2 separate regions of the Homo sapiens genome follow, and region 2 is linked to region 1. Evidence: promoter capture Hi-C in human tissues and cell types (Jung and others, 2019). All regions are on one chromosome and are shown on one strand. The core of a region is centred on a gene start or on the middle of the fragment in contact, and the rest is flanking DNA. Distances in the headings are between cores, read along the strand shown.

The links. Contacts are between HindIII fragments. The study calls those that stand out against the background at their distance.
Region 2: a fragment that was not itself captured here is called in contact with the fragment with the promoter of FARSA in region 1 in 2 of the 25 tissues and cell types used here (lymphoblastoid cells and spleen).

What each region holds. Positions count from the first base shown.
Region 1 is chr19:12,932,427-12,937,699 of GRCh38, forward strand. It overlaps FARSA (phenylalanyl-tRNA synthetase subunit alpha), which reads right to left and starts at 1,285. Exons shown (of 13, transcript NM_004461.3): 1 at 1,124-1,285. The coding sequence starts at 1,270. FARSA-AS1 (FARSA antisense RNA 1) reads left to right here. Exons shown (of 3, transcript NR_149078.1): 2 at 544-611; 3 at 723-870. RefSeq lists enhancers at 888-957, 968-1,467, 1,189-1,483, 4,249-4,378 and a silencer at 2,520-2,625. The HindIII fragment of the contact is 13,322 bases long and covers 1-5,273 here.
Region 2 is chr19:13,063,275-13,068,773 of GRCh38, forward strand. All of the region lies in intron 2 of NFIX (nuclear factor I X), which reads left to right. Among named protein-coding and RNA genes, the nearest start is that of LYL1, 37 kb to the right of the region's middle. The HindIII fragment of the contact is 5,516 bases long and covers 1-5,207 here.

The sequences.
Region 1 (5,273 bases), core at 35-2,534:
GTCAGATCATATTGGTCAAGGCACTGTCACCCCACACAACACAGCTGCCATCTCTCCTCTGCATTGAGGACTATGGGCTCTGCAGCCTGAGTGCCTAATTTCAAATCTGGGCTCATCGGCCTCTTCTATTCACACTGATTATGTTACTGACCATCAGTTGTCACATCTGCAAAATGGGAATAACATGGCCATCAGCCAGGATTATGGAATGGATTGGACAAACAAGCTGAGACCAAAGTGGGGCACAGAACATGAGCTCTACGGATAAACAGCCCAGATCCTGGCCCCATGGATCTAGCCTTCTGGGTGGCCCACGGGCCCCTCAGCATCCTACGCCTGTGACTCTGTCACTGTCCACTTGCCCAAGTCAGAAGGCTGGACTTCATCTGTGCGCCCCCTGCCTTGTCCTGAATCCCACGCCTTCCCCACCTCCCCCAAGCTTCCTTCCCATAGCCAGACATCATGCCCTCCAGCTTGGGGAAGTGCCAGCTTCTTCTTTCATCCCTTCACCTCCAGTCCTGTCCATGCCAATTCTTCCCAAAGGTGATGTGGATAGCACACTCATCTGACCGGCTCTAGCTCCTGCTATCGCTTCCCAGTTCCCTCATGAGGTAAAGACCTAAGAGGCTTTGCAATTACAGCTATGCTGGTCTCCCTTGCCGCCTGCCATCCCCCAAGATCCCGGCCACTGATCTCTAAAGTGCTATCACTTTCCTCAACAGAGAACAGACTCAGCCGTCACCTGCACCAGGCCGCTCTCCCTGACCCCCAAGGCTGGGTCAGCTGTCACAGCTGGGTCCCCTGTTTTCCCCCATCACTCTGGTTCTTGAAGCACCTTCCTATTACGTCGCAACCTGCGTGAGGGCAGCAACCGCGACTTCCTCGTCCATCATCGTACCCTCTACCCACGCTGACCGTGCCTCAATAAACGTTTATTGCATGAGGAACATCCGTGCGTCTGGGCCCTCACTCGTCCCACTTCCCGCCCGCACATCCCGGAGTGGACACATATACAGCTACCCCAAACTAGGCCTGAGGGAATTTGGCTTGGACGTAGAGCGCCCGTGGCAAGGGGACTGTAGGTGCAAGGGCAAGGCGGTCCGGCATCACGGGCCCGGCTCACCTCGCCCAGCGCCTGAAGGCTCTTCACGGCGCCCACCACCGCCTGGTGCTCCATGCCCAGCTCAGCCGCCAACTCGGCGCTGTCCAGGCCGCCATCAGACGCCTCCAGCCGCCGGAGCAGCAGTTCCGCCACCTGACCATCCGCCATGACTCCTTCCAGTGTGCTCAGCGTGTCCGGGCCCGGGTGGGCGGGGGGAGCTGAGCCACCGGAACCGGAACCGGAGTGTGTACCGCCATCTTGAATGTGTCTAACTGTAGAACAGGGCTCAATGTGTCGTCATCTTGAGTGTGGCGACGGAGCCGCAAAAGGTGCATGGGACTCAGTTCCCACCTCCACCCTGGCTCCATCAATGGCGTCTGGTTGACCAGAGGGGTAAAATTGATTATCTCAAGGTCAGAAGCACCGCCCTGTTTTGAGTTTTATCTAGCCTCACTTCGAGCGGGCTGTGTGACCTTGGACTTCCCCGTCTCTGGGTTACAGAACCCTCTGCCCTTCTGGTATTCTCTCTTGCCCTAGGAGAGGCGGTGGGTGGTGGGCTCCAGAGATGGTCATTTTGGCGATGTCAGCTACTTTTAAAATTTCAAAGGAAGGCTGGGTAGGTACCGTCCCTTTTTATAGAGGGAAAAGGAATTCACCTAGTAAGTCAAGGTGGCACCTAACCTGTGTGGACTACCTCGTATGTGGTAGTACTTAGCCCAGAACTGAGTACTTCACGTGTAGTATTTCATTTATCCCCAAAACTTTATGATGTAGATACTGATATAACCGCATTACACATGTGAGAAAACTGAGGCTCAGAGGGTGGTATGACTTGCCCAAGGTTCTACAGAGAGTTGGTGGAAATGAAGTCATAAATTATAAACCTTCCAGATCCTCCCACCCCTGTGCGCTGAGAGTAACGTCAGTGCAAATACTGCATGGCCTAGATTAGCACTGTCCTATAGAAACACAGTGCAAAACATCTTTCTTTTTTGAGACAGGGTCTTGCTCTGTCACCCATGCTGGAGTGCAGTGGTGCAATTATGGCTTACTGCAGCCTTGACTTCCCAGGCTCTAAGGATCCTCCAACCTTAGGCTCCTGAGTAGCTGGAACTGCAGGTGCGCGCCACCACACCCAGCTTTTTTTTTTTTTTTAAGTATGGGTTTTGGCCATGTTGCCCAGGCTGGTCTCAAACTCCTAGGCTCAGGTTATCCTCCTGCATCGGTCTCCCAAAATGCTGGCATTAGAGGCATGACCCACCTCGCCCAGCCAGCCAGACCCTGACTCTTACAAAAAAAAAGATGACTAATAAAATATTTTGCACTCGGCCGGGCACAGTGGCTCACCTCTGTAATCCCAGCACTTTGGGAGGCCGAGGCGGGTGGATCACCTGAGGTCGGGAGTTTGAGACCAGCCTGACCAACATGGAGAAACCCCGTCTCTACTAAAAATACAAAATTAGCAGGGCGTGGTGGCGCATGCCTGTAATCTCAGCTACTTGGGAGGCTGAGGCAGGAGAGTCGCTTGAACCTGGGAGGCAGAGGTTGTGGTGAGCCGAGATCGTGTCATTGCACTCCAGCCTGGGTGACAAGGCGAAACTCCGTCTCAAAAAAAAAAAAATTGCACTTTTTTTCATACTAAATCTTCAAAATCTGATGCGTATTTTACACTTACAACACATCTCAGTTCGGACCAACCACATTTCAAATGGTCAGTAATCACATGTGGGCAGTGGTGACTTACGTCAGCACAGGTAGATTAGAATCCTAGATCTGCTGGCCAGGCTCAGTAATCCCAGCACTTTGGGAGGCTGAGGCGGGTGAATCACCTGAGGTCAGGAGTTCAAGACCAGCTTGGCCAAGATGGCGAAACCCCATCTCCTCTAAAAACACAAAAATTAGCTGGGTGCAGTGGGGGTGCCTGTAATCCCAGCTACACGGGAAGCTGAGGCAGGAGAATCACTTGAGCCTGGTAGGTGGAGCTTGCAGTGAGCAGAGATCGCACCACTGCACTCCAGCCTCGGTGACAGAGCAAGGCTCTGTCTCAAAAAAAAAAAAAAAAAAAAAAAAGAATCCTAGATCTGTTATTTATGTCATTCAACCAGAAGGTGTAGTCTTTCTGTGCCTCAGTTTCTTGCTCACATGGAGGTGATTGGAGCCCAGGTTACTGTGAGAATTAAATGCCCACACATATTCACACTGCTTACTAAATTGAGTGTGGCCCATGTTCGAACACTCTTATAAGCAGAACACATTTATTCCTTTTACATCACAATTATTATTTGAGTCTGTAAAATGGGATTACTCATATCCCCAAATCCTGACCCTATATGAGGTTCTGTATTAAGGATACATTTCTCAAAGTCCCTTCTCTCCTCCCATTTTATGTTGATTATTTATTTATTTATTTAGGGAGTGGGTCTCACTCTATTGCCCAGGCTGGAGTGCAGTGGCATGATCTTGGCTGACTGCAGCCTCCACCTCCTGGGCTCAAGCAATCCTCTCACCTCAGCCTCCCGAGTAGTTGGGACTACAGGTGTGTACCAGCAGGCCAGGCTAATTTGTGTTATGTATATTATATATTATATGCTATATATAATATACATACTATTCATATATTTATGCATTATATGTCATATATAATATATTACATATGTGTACATATATATATTTTGTAAGAATGAGGTTCCACCATGTTGCCCAGGCTGGTTTTGAACTGCCGGGCTCAAACAATCTGCCTGCCTCAGGTTCCCAAGGTGCTAGGATTATAAGTGTGAACTACCATGTCCGGCTTATTTTTATTTATTTTTGAGACAGGGTCTTGCTCTGTAACCCAGGCTAGAGTGTGCAGTGGCAACAACACAGCTCACGGCAGCGTCAACCTCCTGGTCTCAAGTGATCCTCCTGCCTCAGCCTTCTGAGTAGCTGGGAACACAGGCAGGCGCCACCACGCCTGGCAATTAAAAAAAATGTTTTTGTAAAAATGGCCTCCTGCTATGTTGCCCAGGCTGGTCTTGAACTCCTGGCCTTAAGCATTCCTCCCATCTTGGCCTGCCAAAGTGTTGGGATTACAGGCGTGAGCCACTGTGCCCCGTGTGTTTTTAGTTAATTTCCACAAGAGTCCTTCCTTCCTCTCTTCTATCATGCAGCAAGTACTTTTTAAGCCTGTTCTGTGCCAGGTGCTGCAGGTGACACTGGAGGATGCGAAGTGAACAAAACAGGCAGTGTCTAACCTCAAGTAGGAAGCGCCAAGCCCACAGGTGCCTGACACAGGAACAGGAGGAAGGGTCAGCAAGAGGCCTGGGATGGTCCCCGGGATCCTCATGGGGGGGACCAGACTAGGCAATACTGAATACTACCTAGAGGAAGTGGTAGAACCCCAACTTCCCAGTTCATTCTCCCCCGTCTTTTTTTCGAGATGGAGTCTTGCTCTGTCACCTGGGCTGGTGGGCTGGAGTGGAGTGGCGTGATCTTGGCTCACTGCAATCTCTGGCTCCCAGGTTCAAGCGATTCTCCCACCTCAGCCTCCCGAGTACTGGGATTAGAGGCACCCGCCACCACGCCTGGCTAATTTTTATTTATTTATTTATTTTTATTTTTAGTGGAGATGGGTTTTCACCTTGTTGGCCAGGCTGGTCTCGAACTGACCTAAAATGATCTGCCCGCCTCGGCCTCCCCAAGTGCTGGGTTTACAGGCGTGAGCCACTGCGCCCGGCCACCATTTCTTTTTTTTTTTTTTAACCAGAGACCCTTGCCAAGTCATTCCCCCCACTCCACTTTATTTTCCTTTTCATTTTTTCCTTCCTCTCTTTTCTGAGTCACAACCATTAGCCAGGAAGCACCCCCTCCCCACCCTCTTTCCTGGATCCCCCTCATTCCCTCCTTCCATAGTCCACTCCCGCGCTCCCAGGTCCAGGGCTTATTTGCCCAGAGTTTGGAAAACCCCCAGCTCTCCTTCCTCCTTTCTACAGCGTGGGGGCAGGGTACTGGTGCCAGTCACGTGCCTCTGGCTTCTGAAGAAGACTCTAGACTGGGGTCGGGGGGTGGGTCCTGCCCATCTCCCTAGCATCTTATCGTCCCTACCATCTGTGTCTTTTTTCCCTCCCCAAACGGAACCCCCTGCCCTCTCGCCTGCCTATAGCCGTTTAATTGCAAAAGCCAGGCCGTTTGT
Region 2 (5,499 bases), core at 1,200-3,699, 130 kb after region 1:
AGCCTTCTCCTTTTCCTTTTCTTCTTCCTTCCCTCCCTTCCCCAGAAGCATTCAGGGGTGGGTGAGTAGGGGCTCCTTGTCCTGGGGTCTCCCCAGTTCCTCACTCTGCTGAGTGCCCACCAGACAGATGCTGGCAGCTGCATGCAGCCCAGCAGTTGTGCACACAAAGCCACTCTTGAGTATCTTTAGGAAAGTTTTCCTCTTTCTGTTTTTTTTTTTCTTCGCCCAAAGGAATAATTTCCTCTCTGCTCTTTTTTGTTTTTGTCCCCTTTCCCTGCCTCTCTCAGAATCTTGTACTGTACTGCTCTGATTCTTCTTGCCCCAGTCTTCTTTCTTTGCTTTGGCCCTGATTCTCTACTGTGGCTCCTCCTCTCTCTCCCTTTCTCTCTATCTTTTAGTTTTAGTTTTGTCTTTTGGTTGCTCTCTGGCTCTGGGGCTTCCTGCCTTCTCGCATCCCTCCTCCAAACTCCTGCTTGTCCCAGGCGCATCCCTTGAGTGGCCTGCAGAGCCTCCGCCTCCTGTTTCTCATACCAGGTTGGCATTAGAGTCTGGAGGACTCTGTCCCTTTATGAATAATTAGACCAAGGGCAAGTGTATTTGGGGGTAGGAGGAGGGTGATGCCCAGCCCTGGGAGGTTGGGACACTATTAATAGCCCTAAGAGCAGCTGGGGGTGAGGGTGATTGTCTGGCCAGCCTGTCCTGTCCTGGGCAGCTCAAAGGGCCAGAAAGGGCAGTGCTGGAAATAGAGAAAGCGGGTGGGGGTGGAAGAGCAGCTCTGCAGGCCCCTTGCTGGGATGGGACCCCCCCCCTCCCCAGGGCCCCTCTCTTTTCTTGACATGTGGGGTATGGAGGGCATTCTCCACTGTCAGTTTTTCTTCGTCAAGTTGGGGAGGGGATAGAAGCTTCAGGGGCTGGGGGCCGCTTGCCTGGACCCCACCATCACATGACTCTTGGCCCCAGGCCCTCTCAGAAATGCTGGCTCCAGCTGCCGGCTGAATCGTGGCACCAGCCAGCACTGCCAGGAGAGGCGCCTGGCCTGGACGCCCATGGGCCTGTGCCTGTGCTCCTGGTTTTCTCAGCTCTCTGTATTCCAAGGCTGGGCTGGGCTGGGCAGGCCTTGGGCCTAGCACTCCCAGAGTCTAGGGGGACAAGCTCTATCCTCCCTTTTCCCTGTTGGCCCTCTCTCCCCCACCCCTGTTTCTAGTATGGTGACTGTCTTGAGACCGTTGGATGGCTATTGCACACCGATGTGGGGAGGGATATGCCTGTACAGGTGTCTGCCCAGGCTCTGCCATTATATTTGCAGAGAAACCTCTCTGTTGCTCTTTGTAGATGGTAGTGGGCCAGGCCCCAAGGGAGCCCCTCTGTTCACTGGCAGTGGTCCCTGGGTCAAGACACCAAAAACTGCAATCTAGGACACACTCACCATGTACTCAAGAGCGTGAGCTCCTGGGGAGGGGAGCTGAGGGTCAGCCACAGCTTCCCCCACCAGGGTGGGAGGTGGCATTTGAACAGAGTTGAGAAGGAGGAATAAGCATTCAGCAAATGGAGATGAAGGGAAATAGTAATCCAGGTGGAAGGACAGGCGACATTTATGTAGCCCCAACTATGAGCCAGGCCCTGAGCTAAGCACCTTATTATACATGTTTTCTCATTTATTCCTTACCCAGGAATGCTAATGGTAGGTGTTATCTCCCTTTTACAGATGAGGAAACAGTTCATAACTTGACCAAAGTCACAGGCTGGTAGGTTCTGGAGCACGGATGTGAATTGGGGGAGCCTTGGTATGCCGTTGCTGGCCACCCACCTCCTTCCTCCTCCTACCCTCCATTTCAGCATGCCCCCTTCGGCCCCTCTGTGCTGGGGCAAGGCCAGCTCACCCAGGATAGGGTATCCACAGTGGTAGAGCACTGTGTTGTACCCCCTCAGTGGACACAGGCTCCAGACCAAGGGCACCTCCCTGGGTAGGCCAAGGGCAGGCTCAGAGGACAGGGGAAGCAGACCCAGGCCAATGGCTCCTGCCCAAGATGTTTTTCTTTGCCTTCTTCCTTGCCTGATCTTTGCCTGTCATCTTCAATCTCTTCTGCTCTGATGGGAATTCCTACCCCAGGTATCTCTGAAACACCCCAGACAGTGCTGCTGCCATGCCCTGGGTCCACTTGTTCCCTCCATAGTCAGGTATCTGAGGTGCTAGGTTTGGTGCTGGGTCACCTTGCCATGGGCAGACACAGGAGGAGCCTGCAGGCCCACTCGCATGTCCCATTGCTGCTGTGGCTGGGGGTCTCATTTATTAACTGTTGGGCTGATCCTGGAGTGGCCATTGGCAGGTGGGCCTTTGTCCACCTGCTGGGTGCTCTGTTGTGCACCAGGGGCATATCCCTTCTCTCTCTCCTTTGCTGGCCACTGCCTGTCATCCCTTGGGGAAGAGCAACTGAGCATTCAGTTCCCCAGTGCCTCCTGGCTTCTTCTGCCGCTCCATGCCTGGGCCCATCTAAAGGAGTTCTCCCTGGGCTGGGGACGGCTGCTAATGAACGGGAGCCAAGCAGAGAACGCTGAGTAGCTCACACCAGAAGAACTCCCTGGAGGGCTCCGGGGCCACTTGCTGGGGATGGAAGGGAGGTGGGAGTTCTATTGTTTTCCTGGAGGAAAATTTTAAGCTTAGGAACACCTTTCTCATTATATGAGGGAGGCAGTGATGGGCTGTGTGGCTGGAAGGCTTCTGGCTATGAGTCTATCTCCACATGGGGAGTGGAGGCAACCAAGGACTGTAGGAGACAGGCCTTCTTCACCTCGACACCGTGTGGGGCCTGAGGCTTTCAGATGAAGTGTGAGACTGCTCTGCTGGTCTCCTGGGTACAAGATGAGCTGATGGACTTGCTTTCTCCTCGCTTCCCGAAGCCTTACTGCCGAGCTGTGAGTCCTGTAGTAGCCAGGCCTGGCACTTGCTCCAGGGGCACCCGTAGAGGCCGGGATGTGTTGGAATGGAGAAAGTAGTTCTTCCTGGGGTCAGGGGATGGAGAGGGGAATGTCCCATCCAGATGCTGGCCCTTCATCTGCCAGGTTCCTGTGCCTTCCCTACCCCCCCGCCCCCAACAATGGCTTTTCTTGAGCCTAGGCCCTAGGGGCAGCCAGAGCAGGCCTAGACCACATGTGGGTGTCACTCGGTTTCTTCCTCTTTCCTGTCACTTATCCCCTCTGCCATGTCCTCTTCCCCCATCTCCAGCAGGTCAGTCAAGTCAAAGGCAGAAGCCCCTTTGGATCTGTGAGCAGGGAGGGAATGAGGAAAGGGGAGAGGACGATAATGGGGTGACATGTTCCCCTGTCCTTATCCCTGCCCCCACCCACAGCTTGCGGGCTCTGCTTCTTGTTCAGGCTCCGGCTTTAAACCATGTGAGACTCTAGGGATGACAGAGGAGGGAAAAACCTGCCACCTCAGGATGACTCCAGGATGTGTGTGTGCATGTGTGTGTGTGTTTGTGCACATGTGTGTGTGCACATGCATGGTGGCTGGTGGAGCAGGGTGAGGAATGGAGAGAAGGAGAGGAAGATCCTAGAAGCCCCGTGGGCCCAGACCCTGGCCAAGCCTCATCCCCCGGCCCTCTGGCTGCCCTGCATTCTCAAGGACTTCCTTGGTCCCCTGAGTCTCCTGTCTGCTGAGACGGGGAGAACCCCTCTGTGACCCGTCCCCTTAGCCCCCCATCTATCCACCGTTCCCCTCCTCAGGGTGTCTCAGATTCTCAGACTTCAGTTTCAGGAGGCACAATAGTTACATTCTCCAGCTCTGATTGCTACAGGCAGGGCCTCTGGCTCCCCTTGAGATTGGGTTTCCTGTGCCCTGGACGCTCCAGAATCTCAGAGGAAGCGGGAGAGAAGTAGGAGGCGGGTGCAGTGCTGGGAGGGCCAGTGATTGGCCCCAGAATCGCATCAGCCCTTCAGAGGATGGGGTGTTGCAGCTGCCCAGAGGCACCCCCAGAACAGAATGTACCCCCACTTGCTTCTGGAATGTCAGGCCTGGGAGGGCCAGGGGATGGGCAGGCACACCCCAAGGGCTGTTCTCCCCGTTTCCAAAGGCCAGCGGTTCCTGCAGAGTTGAAGGGGATTCCTCTCTGGTGGCTCCAGATGTACCATCTCACTCCACCCTTTCTGGACGGCAAGAAGTGGTTAGTGGCACCTCCGTGTGTGTGCGCGCGTGTGTGTGTGTGTGTGTGCGTGTGTGTGTGTGTGTGTGTGTATGTGTGTGTCTGAGTCTGAGCATATGAGTGTATGCATCCAAGTGTATGCACATACCTGGGTATGCATATGTGGGTTCAGCTAAGGCCAAATCTGTGCACACCCCTCAGCCTCCATAAAACTTGTTAGGCCAAAGTCCGTGGGGGCAATTGGCCAGCAAATTATACATGGCCCCTTTCACAGTACAAGTTTGTTTCGAGCAGGAGCTGAGGGCAGTGTTGGCTGTAGCCAGCAGGAATTCCTCCCTCACCCTAGTGGGAGCCATAACTACCTCCCCATCTGTAGGTGGAAAATATATATATATATATTAAAAACATGCATCCGGGCACGGTGGCTCACGCCTGTAATCCCAGCACTTTGGGAGGCTGAGACGGGCGGATCACCAGGTCAGGAGATCGAGACCATCCTGGCTAACACTGTGAAACCCTGTCTCTTCTAAAAATACAAAAAATTAGCTGGTCCTGGTGACAGGTGCCTGTAGTTCCCAGTACTCGGGAGGCTGAGGCAGGAGAATGGCGTGAACCCAGGAGGTGGGGCTTGCAGTGAGCCGAGATCGCACCACTGCACTCCAGCCTGGGTGACAGAGCAAGACTCCATCTCAAAAAAAAAACAAAAACAAAAACAAAAAACAAAAACATGCTGTCAGTTGGAGTTTATGTGCAATCCCAGGCTCCTCCTGGCTGCTGGAGCTTCCCCTCCAGAGCTCTACTGAAGAGGCAGTGTCCTCTTGGAAACACGCACAAGCACACGTGCCTGCAAACAGCAGAAGGAAGAGGGGGGTGCTGAAGAGGTGAGGGGGAGGCAAAGGAAGGACAGAGGGAGGGGAGCCAAGGGAGACAGGGAAGTAAGATCAGAAATGGGGATCCAAGGGGAAAGGCAGCTGAATAAAAGAAGTAAGGTGGGGACTTGTTCCAGGGGCTGAGAAGGGGAGCTGGTGTGGGTGTGAGAAGGGCAATTTTGCAGGAGAACTTTGTGGCTGTTCCAGAGGTTACTGAGGGGCCCCCAAGGAAGAGAGGGGCCCAGAGTGGCCACTTGGCTCAGCCTGGCTCTGGTCTGGGCACTGCCAGAGGCCTCCAGCCCACAAGCTGTTGTTGCTGTGGAATGACCAGTGGTGTGCAGATGAATACAGAGTGGCCCCAGAACCTGGAGCCAAATCCCGTTTCAAAGGCTTCTTCAGCAGAGCCCACTTGGGCCCATGCGGAGGGAGTCCAGTCTTATTGCCTGCTCCTTCGTAGCCCTCCCTTCCAGAAGCCTGCAAAGTGGCCAGAA